Regions from separate parts of the Homo sapiens genome. Here region 2 is linked to region 1. Evidence: promoter capture Hi-C in 16 types of primary human blood cells and fetal thymus (Javierre and others, 2016). All regions are on one chromosome and are shown on one strand. Each heading gives the region's core, a stretch centred on a gene start or on the middle of the fragment in contact. The rest is flanking DNA. Distances are from core to core; before and after follow the strand shown.

Evidence for each region. Contacts are between HindIII fragments. The CHiCAGO score rates a contact against its expected background, and 5 or more counts as called.
Region 2: a contact is called between a fragment that was not itself captured here and the fragment with the promoter of FHL3 in region 1, in 1 of 17 cell types (endothelial precursors). The highest score is 5.7, in endothelial precursors.

Annotation. Positions count from the first base shown.
Region 1 is chr1:38,003,366-38,006,793 of GRCh38, forward strand. It overlaps FHL3 (four and a half LIM domains 3), which reads right to left and starts at 2,149. Exons shown (of 6, transcript NM_004468.5): 1 at 1,992-2,149. RefSeq lists an enhancer at 159-967 and silencers at 1,820-2,179, 2,210-2,269. The HindIII fragment of the contact is 9,980 bases long and covers 171-3,428 here.
Region 2 is chr1:38,807,053-38,810,269 of GRCh38, forward strand. No RefSeq gene overlaps it. Among named protein-coding and RNA genes, the nearest start is that of RRAGC, 51 kb to the right of the region's middle. The HindIII fragment of the contact is 770 bases long and covers 1,000-1,769 here.

The DNA of each region.
Region 1 (3,428 bases), core at 899-3,398:
AGTGCTGGGGTTACAGGCGTGAGCCACTGTGCCCAGCCTGGTCTGAAATTTGACCTGGACATTCTCAGCATAGGCCCAGGGAGAGAATAGGGGGCCCCAGGCCCATGGGGCTTGCTGAGGACACCAGTGGGGAAAGTGGTCGCTTCAGTCCGGTCAGCCTGACTCTAGTAAGCTTAACTCTTGAGATCTCTCATGCAGGTCCACGGATGTAGACACCTGCATGCTGCTTTGCCACTCACAAAGTCCATGCCCACCACAATCTCATCAGATCTCACAAAAGGCAGGCAGGACAGAGTATCATCCCCATTTTACAGCTGAGCACAAGGAGGCCAGGAATAGAGCAGGTTCATGCCCAAGGTCCCGATCAGGACCCAGGTCCCCTGCCTCCCAGCCCAGAGCTCTTCCCTCTCCCTAAAAATGCTGCCCTGGTGATGAAGCGGATGGTGACATGGGGGTGGTCAGTTTTTAAGGGCAGGGGAACAGGAGATGCACCAGAGCCTGGCTCTTCTCCTCAGCTGCTAGCCCTGTGATTGGAAGACACCCAGAAGCCTTTCCAATGCCCCATGCCAACCATTCAATCCTTCTGCCCCCACCCCCAACATGCCCACTGTCCAGGAGGACCCTGGCCAGGTCCCACAGCTGTGAGTCAGGATCAGAACAGACCCCTCCCCCACCTTCTAGAAGCTGACAGGAGACTTAAGGGGAGAAATCCAACTCCCTCAACCCTCACCCTCTGCTACCGGGCACCAACCCCAAGCTCTGCTCTCCCCCATGTGGCCTGGAAGTCAGAGAAGTTTAGGGAAGGGGGTTGGGGAGCAAGATCCCGCAGCTGCTCTGGGGACATGAGAGGAACAGTTCATTCACCCTGGGTCCCCCAGGGCTGAGGCAGCCCATCCAAGATTTGAGTTCAAAAATAAGTTGGGGCTGTCTTGGTGGCTGTGTGTGTGCGTGGGGCTCTTCTTGATCTCGAACTTACTGTCTCAGGGCCTCTGCCTCATGGGGGATCGGTAGGCTCAGAGTTTCTGTTTCCCCACAGCCTCACCTCCCAATGGTTCAGGCCCGGGTAAGTCAGGGGCTGTCCTGGAAGCTGTCAGACCACCTAGGTCTCTCTGCCCCCACTTAGTCTCAGTTTCTGGTGTCTGTCTCTGCTTCACTCAGCATCTCTGTGTCTGGGCACACTTCAGTCTCTGTCTTTAGGTTTTGGACGGCTCTGTATCTTGACTGGCTGTCCCCCAGGGGGCCCATGCCTCTGTGGATCTCAAGTCTTGGTCTCTTCTTGTCTACATGGCTGAATGTCTCAATCCCCACCACCTCCCTTTCTCTGTCTCTGCATCCAAGTCTCTTTCGCCACCTCTGCACGCCTGAATGTCTCTGTCTCTAGTCTCTGAGCGTCTCTGCAGGCCTCAGAGAGCAGATTCAGCATGAGGCCAATGACGCCCAAGCCTCAGGGCACCTCCAAGGCCCGGGGAAGGGCCCTAGGGAATGTGTTCGCTGGGGTCCCACGTATGCTTTTTCTGAAAATGCTCCACAAAGCCTAGGACGGCCCCCATGCCTCGGGTCTGTCCACCAGTAACTCTGTACGCCCGGTGTGTCCTTGTTTCAGTGGTCTCGGTAGCCTCCTGTGCCTCGAGTCCCTGCCTGTCTCGGTCTCTCGCTCCACCGGGCTTTCCGAGAACCTCAGTTTCTCCAGCGCTTCTGGTCGGTCGGTCTGTCTGTCTCTCTCCGGCTTTTCTATTTCAAACTTAGCCCCCTCCCCCGCCCAACTCTCGCTGCCGCCCCCGCCCCCGCCCCGCCCGATAGCCCGGAGGGGTCCAGTCCCGGCGGGCGCTGTCCCGGGCTCGGCGTGCCCCGGGCACCCGTGGCCAGAGCCCGGCGGGTACAGGGGACCGGGGCCGCGGCTGGCCTCAGCCCTCCGCGGGTCCCTTCGCTCCCCGGCCTGGGCGCGGGGGCGGACCGCCAGGGCTGGGAGCCGGGGTCGGCGGGGCGCTCACCTCGAAGCGGGCGGCGGGAGCGGGGAGCGCGCGGCGCAGGCGGGGCCGGGAACCGGGCGCCGCGTCCCTCGGCGGCTCCTACCTGCGGGCCGGGCCAAGCGGGGGCCGAGCGAGCTGCCGGCGAGGCTGCCGACTGCAGACGGACCGTGTGGGCGAGTGGGAGCGCGGCCCCAACCCCTCCCCGAGGAAGTGAGCGCGGGCCCGCCCCGCCCGGACCCCGCCCCCGGCCCCCCAGCCCGCCGCGGGGGCCAGACCCCGCCCCCACCTCCCTTTCGGCCGCCAGTCGGCCCGGCCCCCTCCTCCCGCCCGGCCTAACCTGGCTCTCCCAACCTTCAAGCGGCCGGGACCCCGCCCCTGTCCCCTCCCCGCAGCCTCTGTTCTCCTCCCCTCCCACCCCCCATCCCCAGCTGCCAGAGGGAGACTGCTGTATTCCATCTCAGGCCGGCGACACGAGACCCCGCAGACCATGGTCCACTGGGGGAGTCCTCTGGCCTCCTCGGATCCCCCCACCCCTTCACCTTACCCCAGGGGTGACACTCAGCCCGGCCTTAATCCAGCCTGGAGGAGGACGTTTTGACTCTGCTGTCATGAGCCTGTCAGCGGGCACCAAGGTGTTCTCTGAAAACATGGGACGAAGAGAGGACCCCTCCCCACCATAGGGCCTTGACCTCCAAAGGGTTTTATTCCACAACTTTGAGTAGCAAAAACAGGGGTAACCACCTCCCCACTTCCAGCAGCCTCCTGACACTGAGAAGTCCTGCCTTGCCTGGGTTTCCGCAGTGCCCAGGAATAGTTTTGACCTTTGAGGCCCGGGGGAGACCCTAATCCTCGGCCCCATGATCTTTGGGCTTCTAGGGTGGGGTGTGAGGAGTGTGAGAGGATGGGGCACCTCAGGGGTGGTGGAGGAGAGGGGAGGGGACCTCTGCGGTGTCTGAGCCTCTGGCTTCCTCCCTGTGTCCGTGAGGGAGGACTGGCGCCTGCTAGGGACACGAGGCCCCTCCAGGTCCTTAAGGCCACCCCCCCTGGGATCCTCAGGCTTGTCACTAGGAATAAATAGCCTCAGTCTGGAAGAGGTGGGGGAGGGAGGGAGGCAGGAGGCTCTACTGTGCTGTTTGTGGAAACAAGAGACAACAAATCAACCCCGGAATAACCTTAGCATCTAGAGTGAAGATTCAGGTGCCCACAGAGGCCTCCCCACACCCCAGGCTGGGTGTAGCAGAGCTCTCACGGAGGAACTAACACCCTCCCAGGCTGGGGCTCCTGAGAACCTTTCCGTCCCATCTCTGCATCATGCCTGGGTTCCTGGGTCCCAAGTCACCCACCAGGTCTGGTTTCCTTTCAAAATTAAATCATTGCTTGCTTATTATTGCTGTTGTTGCCTAAATGGTAAGAGCCATGAAGGCAGGGCTCCGTTTTGTTCCCCACTGCCTTCTCAGT
Region 2 (3,217 bases), core at 135-2,634, 800 kb after region 1:
GAATTGAATTCCAGGCAGAGGGAACAGCATGTGTGACTCAAAGATCTGACAAGAGAAGAGGTGTTATGGGGGAACTGGAGAAGGTCAGAAGGCTGGAAAATAGAGTGTGAGGGGACAGGGTCATGCGATGGGGTCAGAGGGCAGATTACAGGGCCAGATCAGGAAGGGTCTTGTGGGCCATGGTCATGAATTGGAAATTTTTCCCAAGACAATGGTCAGCCACATCGTCCTTCTCCCTGACACACACACACCTGCACACCTGCACAGATCCGGATTCACAGCCTGCCATGCCTTGTCCCGTCCTGCTGTCTTCCACCTACAAGGCTGCCCTCACCCAGTCTCTTGGGATCCCTCAACCTACCCTGTCTTACCTCTACACTTTTCCTCCTGCCTGGAGCCCCCATCATCCTTCATCCACCTGGCTAACACTTACCTGTCCTCCAAGCTGCAGCTCAGATATCACAGCCTCTGGAAACCACCCCTCCAACCTCCCATCTCCAGCTCCCACCAACCTCCAGCCTAGGAGAATTTCACTCTTTCCCCGCCTCTGGGCTTCCAGAGCCCCCAGAGCAACCCCATCGATGTGGGGGAGGGTGCTCATGGAGGGCGGCAGAGGAGAGCTACAGTGCTCCGTGTTGAGGACCCAGCACTGTCCCCATGCATCATATCTGTGTTGAATGAGCGACTGCACTCCCCAGCCTCCGCCCCAGCTGTCCTCAGAAAGGCTGGCTCCTCACAGGTGTTTCGGCTACAGCCCTGGCCTGCGTCCTGACCTGCCAGCCCTTCGCAACAATGCCATCCACATTCCTCCTGGGTCTCTGGAACACATCTCTGGCTTGCACTTCTCCTCTGAGCACGCTTATTCACCTGTCAGGTGGTTATCAGTGCCTGCCCTACTTCCCTCTTGGGATTGTGTGGCTAAAATGGAGAGTCAGTGCAGCAGGTATTAAGTTGTAATCTTCAAACTCAAGTGTCCAAGGAATACTTTTATGTTTGTTAAGCTTAAGTCCAGCTCTGAGGACCCAGCCCTCTAAACCAGGGGAAATTTAATCTGTCATTAATAGGGGTCTTCTCTGCCTTGGGGTTGCTCTAGGATCCTGGAGTCTTCTGCCACATCAAGCCCCAGAGAGGGCTTCTGGTCACCCATCAGTCATCTGCCCTACTTGTTCCTGCAGAGATGCCTGGGGATCCCAGCCTTATAGTGCTAGCCAGCCAGTTGGCTCTGCTACTTCCACAAGACTCAGCCTGCCCTCTGAGGTCATGTCATCTCTCCTGGACATAGATCCCTGTGACTCCCTTGGAGGGACCATGAGGCTCTATCTTCTCTCTCTCAATGTTTTCCAAGGTGCTTCCCACTCTCTAAGACACTCAGCATCATTTATGCAAGGGGCTTTGACTTTTACAGAAGAGACTTAGCTCGTCAATCAACTCCTGCTTTGCCTCCTGTAAGAATCCCTGAGGCAGAGGAAGTGGAAGGGCCAGGCTATTGGCTTGGAGCACAGGGATTGAGGAATAGAAACAAAGCAAAATTCATTCATTTGTCAAAAACAGATCCTGCCACAGGCATGCACCACAACGCTTCCATAGATCGTGAAGGGCCATGCCTTGGGCAGGAGTTACACAATGCCAAGTCCAGCCTGTGCAGAGGTTCAGTTACTTCCACGTGCAGACAACATCATCTGGACAATGCCTGGCCATGGCAAGCCATTAATAATAATTTGTGGAATGGATGAAAGAACAGAAAGGTCTGACTTCAGTCCCAAGCAGCAAGCTTTTCAGACTTAACCATGGCCATCAAAATCCACACATCAAAGGCTTGATACCTGGCATTAGCCTTTGGGCCCTCTGATTTCTCTGTTGCTCTCAACCCAGGGCAGGCTCTGCAGCCTAAGAGCCAGTGCTGTGTGACTGCCCTGGGCTGTTCCTCAGGACAAAATATCTTCCCAAGCCATCTTGGAAATAACCACATGGAAAATGACCACTAACATTGAACATTGGTGTTTTCCAATGCCAGGCACCCTCCTGTCTTCAATGCAATATTTCAATTAATCTGCACGAGAGCCCTATTACATTTCTCTTTTTACACCAAGAAAACTATAGTATAGAGGTGGGTTCCAGCCTACATCATCTGACTCCAGAGCATGTGTTCCTAACCATCCTGGTATACACTGCCTCCAATATGCCTACTCATACATACAAACACTCAAAACGAGCTCTTTTTTTTTTTTTTCCCTAAGACAGAGTCTTGCTCTGTCACCCAGGCTGGAGTGCAGTGGTGCAATCACGGCTCACTGCAGCCTCAACCTCGTGGGCTCAATCGATCCTCCTGCCTCTGCCTCCTGAGTAGCTGAGGCTACAGGTGTGCACCACCCATACCTGGCTACTTTTTTTATTTTTTGTAGAGACAAGGTCTTACTATGTTGCCTAGGCCCATCTCAAACTCCTGGGCTTAAGTGAGCCTACCACTTCGGCTTCCCAACGTCCTGGGATTACACTGTAAGCCACCACACCTGGCCATTCATTTTTGTTTTATTTAAAAAAAATAAAAAAAAAAGTCTGGGCTAGGTGCAGTGGCTCATGCCTGTAATCCCAGTAGGCCAAAGCAGGTGGATCACTTGAGGCCAGGAGTTCAAGACCAGCCTAGCCAACATGGAGAAACCCCTCTCTACAAAAAATACAAAAATTAGCTGGGCATGGTGGTGCATGCCTATAGTCCCAGCTACTCAGAAGGCTGAGGCAGAGAATTGCTTGAACCTGGGAGGCAGAGGTTGCAGTGAGCTGAGTTCGCATCACTGCACTTCAGCCTGGGCAGCAGAGCAAGACTCTTTCTCAGAAAAAAAAAAAAATCTGGAAATTCACCCACTATGGAAGAAGCAAACCCAGTAGCTTTGTAGGGATACAATTCCTGGCTTCTAGCAGGAGTTTGTGGGGAGGGGCTATCCTGTCTACTCAGCACAGGCCCATGGCCAGAACCAGCAGGGCTCCTGAGTCGTAGCAGCCCTTGTTTCTATGTGACCGTGCCCAACCACCACCTTCACTTCTAGGACTGCCCTGTGGGTCCGAGGCTTAGAATACAGGATCCAAACTGCACCATCCCTCTGCTGCAACATCTTCAGGGCTTTCTCATCATCCACACAACCAGATCCTCAGCCTCTTCCGACCTGCTATGGAGCAAGCCCTGGACTGGAGTCTGGAGAGCTGAGCCTTGTTTTCCTGG